Regions from separate parts of the Homo sapiens genome. Here all the other regions are linked to region 6. Evidence: promoter capture Hi-C in 16 types of primary human blood cells and fetal thymus (Javierre and others, 2016). All regions are on one chromosome and are shown on one strand. Each heading gives the region's core, a stretch centred on a gene start or on the middle of the fragment in contact. The rest is flanking DNA. Distances are from core to core; before and after follow the strand shown.

Evidence for each region. Contacts are between HindIII fragments. The CHiCAGO score rates a contact against its expected background, and 5 or more counts as called.
Region 1: a contact is called between a fragment that was not itself captured here and the fragment with the promoter of KRT78 in region 6, in 3 of 17 cell types (naive CD8 T cells, endothelial precursors and erythroblasts). The highest score is 6.4, in naive CD8 T cells.
Region 2: a contact is called between a fragment that was not itself captured here and the fragment with the promoter of KRT78 in region 6, in 1 of 17 cell types (endothelial precursors). The highest score is 5.3, in endothelial precursors.
Region 3: a contact is called between a fragment that was not itself captured here and the fragment with the promoter of KRT78 in region 6, in 5 of 17 cell types (endothelial precursors, erythroblasts, megakaryocytes and 2 more). The highest score is 10.7, in endothelial precursors.
Region 4: a fragment that was not itself captured here is called in contact with the fragment with the promoter of KRT78 in region 6 in 2 of 17 cell types (naive CD4 T cells and endothelial precursors); the score reaches 6.3 in naive CD4 T cells.
Region 5: a fragment that was not itself captured here is called in contact with the fragment with the promoter of KRT78 in region 6 in 1 of 17 cell types (endothelial precursors); the score reaches 5.5 in endothelial precursors.
Region 7: a contact is called between a fragment that was not itself captured here and the fragment with the promoter of KRT78 in region 6, in 3 of 17 cell types (endothelial precursors, naive CD4 T cells and erythroblasts). The highest score is 5.9, in endothelial precursors.

Annotation. Positions count from the first base shown.
Region 1 is chr12:52,443,502-52,446,201 of GRCh38, reverse strand. No RefSeq gene overlaps it. Among named protein-coding and RNA genes, the nearest start is that of KRT6B, 7.3 kb to the left of the region's middle. The HindIII fragment of the contact is 234 bases long and covers 1,265-1,498 here.
Region 2 is chr12:52,422,480-52,425,428 of GRCh38, reverse strand. KRT75 (keratin 75) reads left to right here. Exons shown (of 9, transcript NM_004693.3): 9 at 674-1,359. The coding sequence ends at 912. Among named protein-coding and RNA genes, the nearest start is that of KRT75, 10 kb to the left of the region's middle. The HindIII fragment of the contact is 7,485 bases long and covers 1-2,949 here.
Region 3 is chr12:52,375,466-52,378,165 of GRCh38, reverse strand. KRT84 (keratin 84) reads left to right here. Exons shown (of 9, transcript NM_033045.4): 9 at 1-354. The coding sequence ends at 132. Among named protein-coding and RNA genes, the nearest start is that of KRT84, 8.8 kb to the left of the region's middle. The HindIII fragment of the contact is 4,277 bases long and covers 1-2,700 here.
Region 4 is chr12:52,396,114-52,398,813 of GRCh38, reverse strand. It overlaps KRT82 (keratin 82), which reads left to right. Exons shown (of 9, transcript NM_033033.4): 6 at 1,806-1,931; 7 at 2,582-2,700. Among named protein-coding and RNA genes, the nearest start is that of KRT82, 8.9 kb to the left of the region's middle. RefSeq lists enhancers at 2,320-2,489, 2,612-2,700. The HindIII fragment of the contact is 4,156 bases long and covers 1-2,700 here.
Region 5 is chr12:52,464,315-52,467,014 of GRCh38, reverse strand. No RefSeq gene overlaps it. Among named protein-coding and RNA genes, the nearest start is that of KRT6C, 8.1 kb to the left of the region's middle. The HindIII fragment of the contact is 1,428 bases long and covers 690-2,117 here.
Region 6 is chr12:52,847,544-52,850,243 of GRCh38, reverse strand. KRT78 (keratin 78) reads left to right here and starts at 1,250. Exons shown (of 9, transcript NM_173352.4): 1 at 1,250-1,697; 2 at 2,123-2,337. The coding sequence starts at 1,314. The HindIII fragment of the contact is 13,226 bases long and covers 1-2,700 here.
Region 7 is chr12:52,354,830-52,357,529 of GRCh38, reverse strand. No RefSeq gene overlaps it. Among named protein-coding and RNA genes, the nearest start is that of KRT85, 11 kb to the left of the region's middle. The HindIII fragment of the contact is 2,368 bases long and covers 224-2,591 here.

The sequences.
Region 1 (2,700 bases), core at 132-2,631, 400 kb after region 6:
CTTGGTAAGAAGCAGGTGCTTGCCCTGACTCTATGATTATTAAGACTTTTGCCACCAATGCTTGCTCTGATATAAACTTCTAAAATCCATCATTCAAACTAATAGATACAGTAAAGGAGCATCCTCAAATCTCAGTGTATGGATTTAAAGCCATGCAGTGCCATATGTTTTGGAATGGTTTTGACACAACTCAAAGATACATGGGCTGAACTTAAGAACTTATCCTGGGGCCGGACTTGGTGGCTCACACCTGTTAATCCCAGCACTTTGGGAGGTCGAGGCAGGTGGATCACTTAAGGCCAGGTGTTTGAGACCAGCCTGGTCAACAAGAAGAAACCCCGTCTTTACTAAAAATACAAAAATTAGCTGGGCATGGTGTTATGCACCTGTAATTCCAGCTACTCAGGAGGCTGAGGCACAAGAATCACTTGAGTCTGGGAGGTGGAGGTTGCAGTGAGCCAAGATAATGCCACTGCACTCCAGCCTGGGCAACAGAGCAAGAACTCCATCTAAAAAAAAAAAGAAAAAAAGAACTTATCTTGGGAAAGGCTGGTTAGAATGTTTATGACTGTACACCTAAAAACAGTGACTTTGACTGTCTGTACATTATACCTCAACAACCCTTAGAAAAAGTGAAGTTGTAAAAAAAGATAAAATAAATTCATAAAATTTCTTTATAAAATTAGAGAGTTTGTTTTGAGGTGCTGCTGGCAAAGATGACATGGTCCATGAGACAACATGGTCCACGCTGACAGACGACACTCAGATCAACATGGGGACTGAGCACAGCGGCTCATGACTGTAATCCCAACACTTTGGGAGGCCAAGGCAGGAATCACTTGAGCTTAGGAGTGTGACACCAGCCTGGGCAACATAGCCAGACCCTGTCTGTACAAAAAAACTAAAAAATTAGTTGGGCATGGTGGTGCACACCTGTAGTTTTAGCTACTTAGGAAGCCGAAGCAGGAGGATCACTTGAGCCAAGGTGTCTGAAGTGGCAGTGAGTTATGATTGCAACACTGCACTCCAGCCTGGATGATGAAGGTTAAGGGAGTTCCTCATTTGATGATAGGATGCAAAAACAAAACAAAACAAAACAAAAAACCATGCACATTTTAACTGTAAACTTTCATGATAATTTTGACAAGCAAAAATTGATGGTTGGACGTTCATTCAAATTGACCAGATATCAACATCAGGGTTGTAATTTTCACTTTTAGACGGAAACAGACTCTCTATCTTTTAGGCCATGTTTACACAAGCTTATTCTAGAAACTGGCTAATCAGGTCTTATCCGTGAGCAGAAGAATACAAAGTGAAAGAAAATTCCTGAAGAACAACAATAACTCTTTCAGTTATGGTCATATTTTGCCCATTTGATGCCACAGCAGAGACTCTTTCCCATGCGTCACTACTGTAGTTGAGGTCTGGCCTTCTTCCCATGGTTGTCTGTGGGTGAGCAAACGTCTTGCCACTGAGTAGGTCATTAGCAGAAGCTTTGGAGCGGGAGGAGACTTTGGGGAATTAGTGACCCCCTCCCTTTCTATCATTGCAGTCTAGAGTTTGAAGTCAAAGGCATGGTGGAAGCAGAGCGTAGGAACTGCCACGTTGTTCAAGTCCCAAAAGCTGTTAGGACAACTTCCCAGTGTGCCAGGCAAAGTCATTCTCCCCCCTCAGGTAAAAAGCTCGAGGACAGCAGGCTACTGGCAGGGTCCCTCACTACCCTCAAGTGAAATCCAGATGCTTACCCTCTCTGAGAGGCCAGCTAGATGCCAGCTGGCTTGAGACTTGGAGCAGGCATCCCAGTCTCCTGTGAATAGGGTTGTCCAGACAAAATAGAGGAAGCCCAGTTAAATTTGTTGTGTTTTTTTTTTAGACATAGTCTCATTCTGTCACCCAAGCTAGAGTAGAGTAGTGCAATCATGGCTCCCTGCTGACTGGACTTCGCAGGCTGAAGTGATCCTCTTGCCTCAGCCTCTTGAGTACCTGTGACCACAGGCATGCACCACCATGCCTAGATAATTTCTTCTTTTTTGTAATTTTTGTAGAGTTAGGGTCTCACTATTTGTCCAGGCTGGTTTCAAACTCCTGGGCTCAAGTGATCCTTCCACCTCAACCTCCCAAAGTGCTGGAATTATAGGCATGAACCACTGCACTGAAACCTCAGTTAAAGTTGAACTACAGATAAACAACAAAAATTCATACGTCCTAGTATCCGTGCCTTTCATGTGTTTCTACAGTTTCTCAGGATTCATCCTGTGGGAGGAAGATAACAGCCCCAGCTGGTTCGCCATCTTGCCAGGACAAAATACTAATAGTGATTAATTCTGAGGAGTATGAATTTGGGTAATTGCTATTTTCATTTTCATACTTTTCTGCTACATAAAGATCAACATCCTACTTTTTCCACCATTGAAATGCCATTTTTATTACATGCTGAATTCATACACTTTATCTTCTGTGTCATTGATCTCTTTGTCTGATCACACCACTGTGATTACTAGATCTTTATATTACATGCTGCTTTCTCTATTACTTTAGGGTCAGTCTCTGGTGCCTTATTTTGTCCATTTGGTGAGGTCTTTTCCATGAACATCCTCGATGCTCAAGGATGTGCAATGATGTCTGAACCTGCAGAGAGATTTTGGACTGTGGTTGGGTGCAGAATATCTTGTGGGGGGATATGAACAGGTTACCTTG
Region 2 (2,949 bases), core at 114-2,613, 420 kb after region 6:
AAGGTTGCATTCACGGATACTGGTGTTAACACTTCACCATAGGTTTTTGAAGGACACAATTCATCCTATAACGGAGTCTATTTTTTTAAAATTTGATTTTCCTTCGGCAGGACCCAAAGTAGGGTGCTAGAATGTGTAAGGGGATGAGTTATAAATTAGGAGAAGAATAGGTTGGGAGGAGAACGGGGGCAGAGTTCACTGGCCAACAGGTTAATCTGTCACTTGATCCATCAAGAATATTCCAGCCTCCACCCTGGGATTCTGAGTGTGGGGCTGGGAGACGCTGAGGGAAGAGGAGTGTGCCCCTCCCCCCATAAGCATCCAGAAGGAAGAGAAACTCTGGAGTCAGGCTCAGACAGGGAGACAGACCCAGACGGCACAGCAGGAGGATCAAAGGGAAAGCAGGTGGACTGGAGCTGCTTCCAGGAGGAGAGGGCTCCAGTAGGTTCTGGAAGGGGAGGAGGAAGCCATTCCAGCCTAAGAGGCTGCCTGGAGCTGCAGCTCAGGAACACAGGCAGTGATCTCACTAAGCAGGGGACATTGGAAGGAGGCAAACTGCTGGCTGACGAGACCACCCCCTCCCCACCCAAGGACTCCAGGGCACAGGCCCTCACACTCCCAGCTGTCTTCTCGCTTGCACTTGATCTGACCACACCTCCTCTCTTCCCGGCAGCTGTGGTCACCTCTACTCTTTCCAGTGGCTATGGAAGCGGCAGCAGCATTGGAGGTGGAAACCTGGGCCTCGGTGGGGGCAGCGGCTACTCCTTCACCACCAGTGGTGGGCATAGCCTGGGTGCAGGCCTGGGAGGTTCTGGATTCAGTGCCACCAGCAACCGGGGCTTAGGGGGCAGTGGTTCTAGCGTCAAGTTTGTCTCCACCACATCCTCCAGCCAGAAGAGCTACACGCACTAAGAGAGCCCCATGGCTCCCTCTACCCTGCCTTGAGGCCTGTTTGCAGTCACACCTGGACACCAGGGTCCTCCTCCTTCCTCTCTCCTTGTAAGGTGCACCTGTGCTGCTGGGAGCCTGGAGTACTGGCTATACCCATTCCCAGGCCTAAGCCAGCCTCTCCCTCCTGACAGTGCCCAGACTGCCAGCAGCACCCGTCTGTTACACATGTGAAACCAAAGCCTGCTCTCTCCTAAGGCTCTCATTCAGCCTATCTTGCGAGGCCCGGGCAGCTGGAAAGTCCTCCTCCAGCTCCACCTCCCTCCCTCCCTCCAGATGCAGAGGCTGGGGAGTCTCTCAATGCCAGGTTGTCACCCACCTGTCTCATAGTGTTTATAAGTGGCCTGCTGGGAGTGAGTGCTCCCTCTGTTCCCTCCCTGGAATGTGTCTATTAAATGCATGTGTCACCTGTTTGGTGTCTGGCCCTCTGTTTGGAATGGTGACTGACCCAAAGCAATTCTCCTCCTCTCCCAGGCCTGCTCCCAGCATGGGGATCACACAACCAGTGCTCAGAGGCATCAGCCCTTGCCCCTTCCCTCTGAGCTAAGAAAGCTGGCTGGGAGGAAGGGAGGGCGGGCTGCAGAGGTGCAGGGAGTGCAGGGCTGGCCAGACTTCCTTTTCCCTCTCCTTGGCATGCCTTGTTTGGGAAGCCGGAGCTGTTGGGAGAAGCCCAGACCGGCCTCCCTGCTCTGTTAGTGCCGTCCCCATTCCAAACCAGTGTTCCAGAATACTGACGCCGGGTGGGCGGCCCAGCAGAGGGGCTGATTTTTCCCTGACAGTTTCAAACTTGCAGACCCAGCAGAGAAATAACAGGCCACGAAGAGGAGTTAAAAGGCAGCCCTGGGAGCAACGCTTTCACCAAGGAGAGGAGCCATTTAGCCCATAATTGCAGGCAGCAGTGAGATATCCAGTAAGCTCCCACATTCCTGAGTTTACAGTCTCCTGGACCCCTCCCATCAGGCCTGAGCTGGGGCATAGCCCAGTGGGCTCACCCAGAGTGGGGCAGTCGATGTGGGCTTGGAGGGAGTGAGTTCAATGCTCAGGAACTGATGTGAGCTACTTGGGACAGGGTTCTAAAACACCCTTGTCCAGGGTGAAGGAGCAGGAAGTGAAGTCGGGGGAGAGGGAGGCCGTGAATCAGGAGGGAAGATGAGTGTAAAACCAGGGGCTAAAATTTGGAGTGGACGGGAGAGGGAGGACGGCAGGAAGGAGAGAAATGACACTGAGAACAATTGTGAAATCCCTGGTGTTGGGGTGAGGGCGAGTTCAGACCAAGAGAGGAGAGAAGTGGAGGGACAGGAATTTGCAGTGACATCCTCAGGCTTTCTCCACTGGCCAAGCTGGCTCTCATCTCTGAGCCTGATCTTCCCAACTGTGTGGGGTGCAATGATTCAGGGCATGGGACCAGGAGTCCGGGTTCTGACAATGGCCCCAGTGCTCACTAGCTATGTGACCTCAACAAAGGTGCCTAACTACACTGTGTCTCAATCGGCCTCCTTTGTCAAACAAGGATCTTAACGGCAACCCCTGTAGTGCTATTTCAGATTAAAGAAGATACATGGAAACCAGCTACCCATAGTGGCTGCTCAAAAGATATTCAAAATTGTCCTTATTTTTATCATCCACCCTCACAAAGTTATTATGAGAATTAAATGAAATCATGCTTGCGGCTGACCTGTCGTGTGGTGTGGCACAGACTGAATCTCCAATAAATGAATTTTTAGAAATCATAAGTGAACAGAATGGGAGGAGCATAATTTAGTGACTTTGGGTTCAGAGCCCAAGACCTGGGAATAGAGAAGGGAGTTCAGATGAGAGGCTACAGGAGTGTCCACAATGTGTGGCTGAAAGCCTGCGTGGGTAGGGGGCCCGGAAACCCCCAGGCCTGCTCCAAGTCTGCTCCAGACTCCAATCCCCAGATCTTGTCCTGGGGACTTTATTTAAGGGGAAAAATTGTGTGTATTTCCCAAGTCTGTCTTCCATGCTGAGGTGAGATAAGGG
Region 3 (2,700 bases), core at 23-2,522, 470 kb after region 6:
ATCAGCGAGGCCTGTGTCCCCAGCGTCCCCTGCCCCCTGCCCACCCAGGGGGGCTTCAGCAGCTGCAGCGGCGGCCGCAGCTCCAGCGTCCGCTTTGTGTCCACCACCACCTCCTGCCGGACCAAGTACTGAGAGCCCAGCCCCAGACAGCTGCTGCCCAGAGAAGAACCAGCTCCACGGCTCCTGCTTCTGCCCCCAGGGTTCGTGGGCTCTGGGCTTGACGGTCTCCAGCTCCCCTTTCTGCCAGGAAGCCACCCCTTAGCACTCCCCCGATTATTCTGCCTGGCCCCATGTCCTCTTGGAGGATTTTTCTGCCATGTAGATGCTCCATTAGCAGTTCCAGCTAAGCTGGCTTCTCCCTGCCTCCCAATTTCTGTCCTTTGGATCACTCCTCTCCCTGTCAGCAACAGCCTGGAGAAATGCACATTCCGTGCAATAACAACAATCCACCCAGTGCCCTCACCACCCGTGGCTTTGGGTTAATTTGGAGAATGGAGTTGACCGTCCACACTGCAGGCATCCTTAACTCCACATCCTTCACTTCCTTCTTCTTCCTTTCTCTGGTAGGAGAAGGTTCTTTCCTTCTCTCCCTGATGAAGGGGATCCCAGTCCTTGGTGGCCCCAGGCTCCCTAAACCCCGAGATGGCTTTTCTCCCAGTGGCTTCTCTCCGGCTGTTTCTCTTCCTGGGTTGTTGGTGTAACTCCAGCATGCAAGTCCACGAGGTGGGGTGCAGGCGGACAGGCGGGCTTTGCAATGATCCCCGTACTCCTGCCCCTGCTCGTGGTGTGAGGCCCAGCCCTGTCCACTGCAGGGTTGTGTCTGCAAGCTCCAAGGAGGCCTGGGGGTTGGGTGGGGTGGGCTGCCTGTGTGCACTACTCTTTGTGTTCCTGGGTTTTCAATAAACTTGCCAAGCTCACCTCACAGGGACTCTGGCCTCTCCTTCTGGATCACACTGGGGTTGGAGGAGTTGCCTCCTAGACTCCACCAGATCACAGCCTGCCTAGCTGAGGTAGGGCAGAGACTGGTGTCCTGGGCACAGGGAAGGCACTGAGGAAAGAGGGCCCAGGCCATTCGCTGGAGGGACTGACAGTTCTGCAGGGCATAGGAGAGGTAGCAAAGGCTCCAAAAACAAGTGGCAGCCAGCCCACTGCCCACTTCCCCCCACCACTGGGAATAGCCTTGTGCTCAGAGGCACCCTCCCCTGACCAAAGTGAACCCTGCCATCTGTTGCTCCCCAGGTCTCACCCACCCTCAGTTCCCCCAGTTCATCAGTTCATTATAGGTCCTTCCTGGTCTTTCTGTTCCCACTCGTGTCTCCATCCAACTCATTCATCACGATGCTGCTAGAAAGGCCTTTCTCACATAAAAAACTGACTGTGGTTCCCCGCAGCTCATATCCTTCGGTAGCTCCCCGTTGCCTCCCAGAAATAGCCCAAGCTCCTTAACATGGCATACAAGCCCTGTGTGATCTGCCCGTAGACTTCCACCTCCAGCCATCCCCTCCACACAGCCCACTGCCCACCTCTCATCTTTTGTCTATTCATCCAACAAACATTTGAGAAGTGCCTACCACATACCAGGCATGATGCTGGGAAAATGGTAATTGACAAGATTCAATTCCGGCCCTCAAAGAGCTTACAGTCCTGTCTGATAGATGGACAAGTGCACATGTCTGATAGATGGACAAGTGCATAAGCACTTGACTCAATATGCTAAGTACTATATTAAAAGCAGAACTCATGCTGTACTACCCAGACAAGAGGCCCCGCCCAGACTTGGGGCAACATTAAATGCTTCCTGAAGGATATAATGTCCCAGCAGAGGTGTGAAGGATGATGAATTAGCCATACTAAGAAGGAAGAAGTGTCCCAAGCAGAGGCAACAACAGCATGTGCAAAAACCAAGACGTTGGAGAGAGCAGAAGTTTGAGGATTTGCCTGGAGTTGAAATTGGCCATGACTATAGCATAGAGTGCAAGACATAGCGTCAGGTGGGGACAGGAGTCAGCCAAGGCACAGTCACGAACAGCACAGCTCCATTGGGGCACATGTCTCATAGTAGGAATGGTTTGCTGGTCAGCCTCACTCCAAGACAGTTCTTCTGAGGGAGCAGGAAGCACATCTCTCATTTTTATATGTTCTGCATTGCCAAGACCCCAGCCAGCACCCTGAGGATGTAGAGGTTGCCCTGCTCACAGCCTCAGGCCCTGCATGATGGTGGGGTCACCAGCCACTGGCCCTCCTGCTTCCAGGAGCTCATGACTTCCCACCTCATCTTCTACGTGCAAAGTCACACACACCCCTTGGGGGCAATTTTAATATTTGACATTTTTTAAGTCATTGATGGGCCCATAACAAAAAGAAGTAGACAAAGGAGAGTCAATAACTTGAAGACAGATCAATAGAAATTATCCAATCTGAAGAATAAAGAGAACATAAGATTTTTTTAAAGTTTTTTTTAAGCTAGAGGAAAATAACACATTACATATAGGGGAATAATCGTTCAAATTATCATAGATTTCTCATCAGAAACCATGAAAGACAGACGATGGTGGCACATCACATTTAAAGTGCCAAGGGTTGTGGAGGGGGGAGGGACTGTAAACACAGAATTCTACAGCCAGCAAAAGTCTCCTTCAGAAGCAAAGGCAAAAAGAAAACAAAACCAACAAAGAAACAAAAAGACATTCTCAGACGAAG
Region 4 (2,700 bases), core at 20-2,519, 450 kb after region 6:
GGCTTTGTTCTGAAGGCAGTGGGTGCCACTGCCCAGGGAGTGCCCAAAGTGATGCTCTGCCCATTTTCTGGAGCTCCATGGTGGTTGGAAGTATGAAAACTTGAAATGGAGTCAGCTCCTGGTGAACCTGTCTGTGACCCACCCACGGCCAGGTTTCACTCTGGCTGGCCCTTCCTCTGGTTGCCCCTGGCAACAACCATCAGCCATGTTGGGTTCAGGATTACAACCACCTCATTTTCCCATCCTGCTAAGTCAGAATCTTAGAGAAAATTCTATTAGTTGAAGATTGCATTTGGCTACCAGGATCAGAAATTCTAAAAAAAAAAAAAAAAGTTAAAATTGAATTTTTACTTTTTTCTAAAGTAGCTTGAAGTACAAAATAGACTGCCCAGGATGACACAGAGATTCTGTGACATCATCAGGGACCCAGGATCCTTTGAGTTCACCATTCTGCCATCTGTAATACATGCTCCATCCTCTTGGTTGCCTCATGTTCCAAGAAAGCTGCAGCACCTCCAATCTCACATGCTTACGCCTGGCAGCAAGGAGAACAGAGGCAAAAAAAGCCAACTGGGTCATTCCCCCCTTTAAAGAGCTTACCCAGAAGCCCTACCCAGCCATGGTCATAGATCTCATTGATTGGAAGACTGAGAAATATTCTCTTATCTGGGCTCATTGTTACCCTAAATAAAAGCAGTGTTCTATTTGGTTCTGGGTTTTTTCTGTTGCTGTTATTTTTGTTTTTTGTTTGTTTGTTTATTTTGAGATGGAGTCTTGCTCTATTGCCCAGGCTAGAGTGCAGTGAGTGGTGCAATCTCGCCTCACTGCAACCTCTGCCTCCCAGGTTCAAGTGATCCTCCTGCCTCAGCCTCCCAAGTAGCTGGGATTATAAGCATGCACCACCATACTCAGCTAATTTGTGTATTTTTAGTAGTGATGGGGTTTCACCATGTTGGCCAGGCTGGTCTTGAACTCTTGACCTCAAATGATCTGCCCGCCTCAGCCTTCCAAAATGCTGGCATTACAGGTGTCAGTCACTGAGCCCAGCCAGGGGTTCTGTTTTAAGAAGAGGACAATGGATATTTACTAGGCAACTGCAGACTTTCCTACTGTAACCAAATAACAAAAGAGCCAATGAGTGTGATTATGTGCTTATCTCTCATTTTGCATTTTCTATATAATATGCTCCCACTCACTATCAGAAAATCTAAAGTCAGCTAATTTTTTAAAACTTACAAATGTAATCTGTACACACTACTATTCAGAAATTGGATTCAGAGTGCAAAGGTTTTTATAAAAAAGTGTTACCTCAAGGTAGGACATAAATTGCATTTTGTTTTTTTTATTGTTTTTGTGGAAAACATACAAATGTTCTCATCCTGATGGGCAGACCCATCCTAATGGGCAGTCCTTGGTCTGTTAGGCAACCCAGGCTGAGCACAGAAACCCCTTCCAAGTTCCAGAGGCATATCTAAAAGGGAGGGAGCCCTCAGGTGAACTTGGGCTCTGGGACAGAGAAAAGGACCAGACACAGAACAGCTCAACAGAGGAGGGGATCTCAGAGGCTGGAGAAAAATCTAACAAGCCTGGAGCTGGGGATGGGGTGAGATGGGAATCAGGAACAGCCCACATAAAGGACCCAAAATTGCCCAGAAGCGGAAGAAGGTAAAGGAGCAGAACCAGTATGAGAACCAGAGAACACCTGAACTAGGAAGTCACGGGAGAAAAGACTGGGAACAGTGAGAAAAGAGGCTAGGAGATGCCATCTTGTGGGGCCTGGGGCTCTGACCTCTCTGTCCTGGCAGTATGAGGAGCTGAGAGTCACAGCTGGGAACCACTGTGACAACCTCCGCAACCGTAAGAACGAGATCCTGGAAATGAATAAACTGATCCAGCGGCTGCAGCAAGAAACCGAGAATGTCAAAGCCCAGGTGAGGCTGGGGAGGACTTCCTTGCTGCAACAGCCATCCTGGGCTGACTGGCCAGTCTGTGCCGTGCAGGGCGGGTTCAATCCTTGCTGTGAGTGCCATTGAAGAGGGAATAAACTTGTGCTGCCTTGCTCAAGCAGAAGCAAGCCCTTTCTACCAAAGGGCTGACCCACAGCAGGATGAGCAGCCACAGGAAATAGTCAGGTCCCCAACAGAAACGAGGTGACCAATGTCAAAGATGAGAAGCAAGGATGCTTCACTAGGTGCAAGTATAGAAAAGATGCACTCCACGGTCCCTTCAGACCCAAAGACTGTGATTCTATGATCCTGAAATTCAAGGTGACTCTCAGTTGTTCATAAAATCAGACCCACTCCATTCTCCTGGGCTAGGGAAGACCAGCTGGGCATTTAAAACATATTAACCCCACAGAAATTTCTCAGCATACTTAAGAGGAAAATCCCCGCTCTCTTGGAGGTATTTTAGACAGAAAACCCATCCCAGTTCCCTGGAGGAACCAGATGTCGCAATCCTAGGATGAAGCTCGCAAATGTGAGCCTGGCACGTAGCCACCCCCGTGTTCTCTCTGCTCTTCTGCGAGTCTGGCTTGGGGCTCCAGGGCCCCCAGTGATGCTTTTCTGCGCCCCTCCCACAGCGCTGCAAACTTGAGGGTGCCATAGCTGAGGCAGAGCAGCAGGGCGAGGCGGCTCTCAATGATGCCAAGTGCAAGCTGGCAGGGCTGGAGGAGGCTCTGCAGAAGGCCAAGCAGGACAT
Region 5 (2,700 bases), core at 154-2,653, 380 kb after region 6:
GTTAAAAACAATGTGCATGTATGTGTATCTATATAAAAAATAAAAATCTTATAGTATATGGACATTCAAAGTATAATAAAGGAAAACTACAAATGAACAAACTTGAAACTTCAATGAAATGCACCAAATCCTTGAAAGACACAGGTTACCAAAAAATACACACAGGGAGAAACAGATAATTGGAATAGTAACACACCTATTAAATAAATTGAATCAATAATTTATAGCCTCTCTAAAAGAAAGCACCAAGCCCAGATATTTTTATTGGTTAATTCTATTAACATTTAGAAATGAAATGATACCAATTGTCTACAATGTCTTCTGGGAAACAGATGCAGAGAGAACGCTTATAACTCATTCTATGGAGGTCGATATTACTCTAACACCGAAACCAGACAAAGACATTTTGAGAAAAGAAAACTATAGACCAATACCTCTTATAAACATAGATGCAAAATCGCTCAACCAAATATTACCAAATTTAATCCTACCAAGTACTTCAAAGTTATACACCATAACTAAGCAGGATTTATCCTATATATGCAAGGCTAGTGTAACATTCAAAAGCCATCAATAAAATCTACCATATCAGAAGACTAAAAAAGAAAAATCATATAATTATATCAGTTGATGCAGAAAAAGTTTATTATATAACCCAACACCAATTCATGTTTCAAAGAAAACAAGCTTGTCAGCAAACAAGAAATGGACGGCAACTTCCTCAACTTGGTAAAGAACATCTGAAAAATAAAAAATCCCATAGTTAACATCATACTTAACAGTGAGAGACTAGGCCGTTTTCACATAGTTCGAGAGCAAGGCAGATATGTCCCCTCTCTCCACTGTTACTCGCATTGTACTAGAAGTTTAACTGCAGCAGTAAGATGAGAATAAGCAATAAAAGTAATATATATTAGAAATAAAAAAACTCTCTTTATCCTCATATGACATTTAGTCAATGTAGAAAATTTCAAAGACTCTACCAAAACTTTCCTGGCAGCAACAAGCAGAGAGAGCAAAGTTGCCGGCACGAGGTTACTAGACAAAAGTAAGTACTTTCTTATATACCAGCAATGAGGAACTGAAATTTGAAATTAAAAATCAATACCATTCACAATAACACCAAAAGGATTAAATGCTTAGGCATAAATCTAACAAAATATAAAGAGACTCCATAGGTGGAAAACTACTAAATAATGATGAAATAAATCAAAGATGTAAATAAATGAAGAGATATTCCAGATTTGTAGATTGGCAGACTCAAAATTATTAAGCTGTCAATTTTCTCTAAATTGATACATAGATTCAACACAATTGCAATTAAAATCCCAGCAAGATATTGTTTAAATATCAATAAACTGGATAAAGTTGATATGAAAAGGCAAAGGATCTTTGCAAGGTGATAAGTGAAACAATTGCAGTGGTGAGGTCACATTATGCATTTGTCAAAATCCATAGAATTTTGGGGGGATTTTAAAAATTAATATTTTAAATTGACAAAAACAAAACTGCATAAATTTATGAGGTACAATATGATGTTTTTATATATGTACAAAATATGAAATGATTAAATCAAGCTACTTAATATATCTATCACCCTGCTTTATCATTTTCTGTGGTGAGACATTTGAAATTTACTTTCTTAGCTATTTTGAAATATGCAATATATTATTATTGATGATTGTCACCCTGCTGCACAGTAGATCTCAAAACTTATTCCTCTCATCTAACTGAAATTGTGCTCTTTGACCAGCATTTCCCATTCTGTCCCATCTCCACCCCCTCTCCCAGTCTCTGATAACCATCATTCTACTCTAAACTTCCATAAGTTCCTCTCTTCTACATAACACGAATAAGTGAGACTGTGCAGTATTTGTCTTCCTGTGTCTGGCTTATTTCACTTAGCATAATGTCTGCCAAGTTTATCTATATCGTCTTTATTTTTTAGAGCTGTTTTAGGTTCACAGTAAAATTGTCCAGAGGTACAAAAACTTACCATATACCCACTGCCCACACAAATTCATAGCCTCACTCACTATCAACAGCCCCCACCAGAGTGGTACATTTGTTACAATCAAATCTACATTGATGTGTCATTATTACCCAAAGTCCAAGCTTACAGTAAGGGTAACTCTTGCAGTTGTACATTCTATGGTTATGAAAAATGGATAACATGTATCTACCACTATAGTATCATACAGATTCATTTCACTGCCCTAAAAATCTTCTGTGCTCCACCTATTTATCTTTCCCAACTAAGCCTTGGCAGCCAATGATCTTTTTACTGTCTTCATAGTTTTTTCCCTTTTCCAGCATGTCATATAGTTGGCTACAGTATGTAGCCTTTTCAGGTTGGCTTCTTTCACCTAGTAATATGCATTTAAGTTTCCTCCATGTATTTTCATGGCTTGATAGCTCATTTCATTTTAGTGTTGAATAATATTTCATTGCCTTGATGGGCCACAGTTGACTTACCATTCAACTACGGAAAGATTTGTTGGTTGCTTCCTAGTTTGGGAAATCAGGAATAAAGCTGCTATAAATATCTGTGTGCAGGATTTTGGATGGACATAAGTTTTTAACTCATTTGGGTAAACACCAAGGCATGCAGTTGCTGAATTGTATGGTAAGAGTATGTTTAGTTTTGTAAGAAACTGCCAGACACTATTCCAAAGTAGCCATACCATTTTGCATTACAAA
Region 6 (2,700 bases), core at 1-2,500:
TTACAGGTGCCTGCCACCACGCCTGGCTAATTTTTTGTATTTTTAAGAGACGGGGTTTTACCGTGTTAGCCAGGATGGTCTCGATCTCCTGACTTCGTGATCCACCCGCCTAGGCCTCCCAAAGTGCTGGGATTACAAGCGTGAGCCACCGTTCCCAGCTTAGGAGTATTTTCTAAATGCACCTTGCTTTTTTTTTTGAGATGGAGTCTCACTCTGTTGCCCAGGCTGGAGTGCAGTGGTACGATCTTGGCTCACTGCTCAACCTCTGCCTCCTGGGTTCAAGCAATTCTCCTGCCTCAGCCTCATATGTAGCTGGGATTACAGGTGTGCACCATCACACCTGGCCAATTTTTGTATTTTTAGTAGAGATGGGGTTTCACCATGTTGGTCAGGCTGGTCTCAAACTCCTGACCTCCAGTGACCCACCCACCTCGGTCTTCCAAAGTGCTGGGATTACAGGCGTGAGCCACTGTGCCCGGCCCTAAATGCACATTTCATTTCAGAGCCTGGGTGGCTCTGATTTGTAACCTCAGGAAGCGGAGCCTGATGGCAGGTGGATGGGCCTGGCCCCAAGTGCTTGTGGAAGGAGCAGAGCCACAGGCTGGGTCAGAAACGTGCTGTCCCATGCGATCCTGGATGGAGATGCCTGATTTCAGTGGGTGGTGCCTCATGGATGATTGCTGGGTTGGGCAAGAGGAAGGACTTGGAAACCCTGTTTTTCTGTTTCATTTCCAAATCCTGGAGTGTCTTTTAGCCAACTATGGCAATAACACCTCCACTAACCTCCTCTCTTTGTGGCGCTGCAAGTGCCTTCCTTCTCCAACTCCTTGAGGCAGATTCTCCCTTGAGAATCCAGGGCACTCTGATGCTTCCTCTGAACCCCTTCTAGCGTTCTTTCCTCTTCAACCTCCTCTCGCTTCCCTGTCTCCTTCAGGAAGCCTTCCCTGAGGGCCTCAGTGACTTTGCTCCGGCCATCCCTCCCTGTCCCTCAGCACTGACATCCCAGTCTCCTGCCTGCTTCCTTGTCTTTGGGCATGCCTATTTCTCCAACAGCCTGGGAGCTCTGAGGGCAGGGTCTGGGTTTCCTTCTCCCTTGGCTCTGCACGTGCCGGACACTTATTCTCCAGGCACGTCAGAGTAAGTCAGCTGGAGCCAAGTGACAGACACAGTCAGGTCAAGAGTATCTTGCTCTCCAAGGCCCAGCCCAGGTACGGGAGTGGATAAAAGTCTCGTGCTGGGGCCCCAGGGCAGAAACTCACACACCTTGACAATCTGTCTGTCCGTCTGCAGCTGCGTGACTGTCTGTCTCTGCCATGTCTCTCTCCCCATGCCGGGCCCAGAGGGGCTTCAGCGCTCGCTCAGCCTGTTCTGCTCGCTCAAGGGGCCGCAGCAGGGGAGGCTTCAGCAGCAGGGGCGGCTTCAGCAGCAGGAGCCTTAATTCCTTTGGGGGGTGCCTGGAAGGCTCTCGTGGGAGTACCTGGGGGTCAGGGGGTAGGCTGGGGGTGCGGTTTGGGGAGTGGAGTGGTGGGCCTGGGCTCTCCCTGTGCCCTCCGGGGGGCATCCAAGAAGTGACCATCAACCAGAATCTGCTGACCCCACTGAAGATTGAGATCGATCCCCAGTTCCAGGTGGTGCGGACGCAGGAGACCCAGGAGATCAGAACCCTCAACAACCAGTTTGCTTCCTTCATTGACAAGGTGAGGGTCAACTCAGCCAAGCCCCTGTCTCTGTGCCTCCCTTGGAGGAGCTGCTCTTGATGGACTTGGAAATGGGAAGTTTGGCCTCCTTCTACCACTTTTCTAATAACTTCTGCAGCAAAGAAGTCCCTCCTGTGGACTAACTGGACTCTCTCTGGCTATGCTGAGGCCCTGTTGTTCCATGATTGGGGCTCAGGGACAGAGAACTGCCAGCCAGCGGGGGGAAGGCCCTGCCCCATTAGTCAGTCCAGTCATTTTGTTGTGTTCAGAGTGTCATGGAAGGTCATGAGGCTTCCCCTGCCCAGGTTGGGCAGGGGGACAGGGGAAAGGTGAGGCTGATGGGAGGGTCCCTCAGGCTTTACTTTCCAGAGGCTGTGCACAGGGAGTCCCACAGGAGCCTCAGGGATCCTCTGCTTTTGCTGCAGGTGCGGTTCCTGGAGCAGCAGAACAAGGTCCTGGAGACGAAGTGGCATCTGCTGCAGCAACAGGGGTTGAGTGGCAGCCAGCAGGGCCTGGAGCCTGTCTTTGAGGCCTGCCTGGATCAGCTCAGGAAGCAGCTGGAGCAGCTCCAGGGAGAACGAGGGGCTCTGGATGCTGAGTTGAAGGCCTGCCGGGACCAGGAGGAGGAGTATAAGTCCAAGTAGGCACACTGAAATTTCCCCATGCCATGTGGGCGGGGTCTGGGATGACTCAGTTTGGGTCTGTCAGCCAGGAGGTGTCCCACATACTGAGCACCCAGAGGCACATGACTGGCCTCCCCTCTACCCCTCCGCGTCCCCATTCCCCAGGCTCTCAGGTGCCCACCTGCTACAGGTAAACGAGGTGTCCCGCAGTCCCCAAGCAGATCTGGAGAACCTTGGAGGAAAGGCAGGGAGACCGGTGTCCTACATGCCCCAGCTACAAGGGCCCATGTTTCCGGTCAAGGCTGGGAAGGGCTTATTTAAACAATGCCCCAGTGGCTTTTTTTATTCTTGAGAAATTCCTGTTCAGCGGGCTGTGGGCT
Region 7 (2,700 bases), core at 158-2,657, 490 kb after region 6:
ACACTCCTTGGGTGTAGGGACATGCCAGGCAGAACAAGCAATGGGAGAGGCTTATTTCACAGAGCCTCAGGCCACCTTCCTGCCTCCCCCAACCCCCAACCCCCAACCTGTGCATGCCTGGAAATCCCTGCTCATTTCCGCTTTGTTCAAAAACCGAGGGCTCCCCCATGTTGGCAGGGGAGCAGCCAGGGAGTGGGGTGAGGCGGGGACAGCATGATAAGCTTACGCATTAAAAATGAAGAAAATACCCAAGGCATTCATAGACAAATAGCCACCCTCCACCACCATCAAAAGGAAACACAGACCCTTCCCCAGTCCACAGTCCCATGCCCCAGGGCAGCCAATGCCCCCTGAGACACCGTTTCCTCCTCAGAGTCACTCTGGTGACCCTTTTAACCTGGCTTTACTGCTGCTCAAACTTGGTGGGATCCGGACTGTGATGGGCAGGCCCCTGCAAGACCCTTTGGTCCGGGAGACAGAGACAAGGGAAGCACCACCCTACTAAGATAGACCTCTGTCCGCCCAGGTCAAGTCACTGCCTGGCCATTGTGGTCACTGAAACAGAGTCTGAAGACATCAGAAGAACTGCGTGGCCGAGGAGAACCATTCAAAGGCTCTTCTCTGTTATGTCGCCCGTGCAGTGCTGGCCCTCTGGATGCGAGAGACTCGGGATGGGAAGGCGAGTCACCGTCCAGGCCAGCAGGACTTCCTCAGCCTCGGTGGTCCGCAGGCCACCTGGGTGGGGACAGTTTACAGTGTAACAAGGGGCCTGCAGGTCCTCCCTGCAGGTCCCCACTTTGGCCCCGTCTCCCGTTGAGGCCACCGTTGTCCCCCATCTCCCCACCCACGAGAGTCAGGGGCCACACCCCTCCTACCCCCACCCTCGCTTTGCTCACGGGTCGCCCCGTGCCCTGCCCTGCCTGCCTGCCCACCGTCACGTCCAGCCACCGGGTATCCTGGGCCCATCTCCAGATGCACGGCGCGGGCCCTGCTGGAGCCCGCGGGATCAGATCCACAGGGGCCTTGGGTCCTTGGCTCACGCAAGGTTCGCGCCTCGGCGCCTCTGGACTGGTTCCTGAGTCTTCTGCCGTCCGCCGGGATCCCGCCGCCTGCGCCTCTCTCAAACGCGCCCGCCCTCCACGCCTGGGCCCCGGCTGCCCTCCTTCACCCCTGCCCGAGACGCCCCGCGTCCCGCCCTTAGCCTCTAACCCCAGTGGTGAGGGGCCTAGGGGCTGGGCGCCGGGAGGGACGGGAGGGCGAGCTGGGCGCCACCTGCCCGCCGTTTTGGGGTAGTGGGCAGGGTGTTTGGGGGTTATTGGCTGCTCAGGGCTGCCCCGTGACATGCCCATAGCACCGTGGCCGGGGTCGGCGCCCTCCTCTCCGAAGTCTAGGTGCCTAGTGCGTCCTGGCACAGAGGTTTTATAAAGACCCTCGGGGGTCGCCCGTCTGCAGTGAATGGGATGTGGGGAGCGAACCCGCAGGTAGTCAAAAGGCCAGGCCCTGCTCCCCCAGACTCCACCCCTAGGCCGGGGTGCCAAGCCATTGCCTTGGCAGGTCCGGAGCTGGTACCAGAAGGTTTGGCAATGTGCGTGAGCACCATGGAAAAGAAAAGAAAAAAAAAACCTTTTAAAGACTTTTCTATGTCATGAGATCAGATATGCATTCTTGTGGCAAAATGTTTCCTACCCAGTCAGGCTTAAAAAAAAAAAAGTTCCAAATAAAATAAGGTGGGAGAAATAGTTCTTCCTGTACAACAAGTGAAAGAAAGTTGACCTTCAGAAACCCCTGTCTCCATTCATCACATACAGGTGAGACAGCCCTAGGTAGGACTTCTAGGGAACTGTCAGTTCAAGAGTAGGCCAGACATACAGTTCACCAATCAATTGCCTCTGACCAGGTTATCAGGGCAAATGCCTTCCAACCACGTGTCTGAGCTTTGATCTTGGGTTCCCATATAAAAGGCTTGTATTAACCGCCCCGTGGTACGATCTGTCCGAGATTCTTGGAGAACAGAACCTACGGGGAGATGTTTCTACAAATGCTTCTAGGAGGTCCCATGTGTCACCTTCCATCTCATCTCCAAAGTGTCAGACAGCTGGTGAAGGAGCATCAGGCAGAACTCCTCCGGAAGCATCTGATGAGCCGGAATGTTTAGCCTGAGGAGCAATTAGGGAAATGCTGTGGAAACATTTATGAACAGCAGCATTCCCTAGACATGAGTTTGAATTCTGGACTAGCTGGGTAACTTAGTAAAGCTACTTCTTTGAGCCTTAATTTATTTATACGTAAAATGAGGATAATATTCTGGTTGCTGTGAGAAATTAATGAAATACATATATAATGTGCCAGACACCTAGCAGGTGTTTAACAAATACAGGCTCCCTTCCTCACCCCTTTTGTACCTTTGCCCCCACCTTGCCCTGGTGTGTGTGTGGCCCAGACCATGGCTCTGACCTTTTAGCCGCAGACAAAGGAGAAATGCAAAGGGGCTAGACCGATCCAGTGAGAATCAGAGGGACAGTCACTTCCATGGCCAGAATTATCCGACCCTCCTCTTCCCTCTACCCACATCAACCTGTGGTTCTCAAGCTTTAGTTCTTCTAGGAATCACCTGGAAGCTTCTTAAAATACAGATTCCTGGGCTCATCCCTAGAACTTTTGATTGAGAGTTCCAGATGGAGCCCAGGATCTGCACATTTA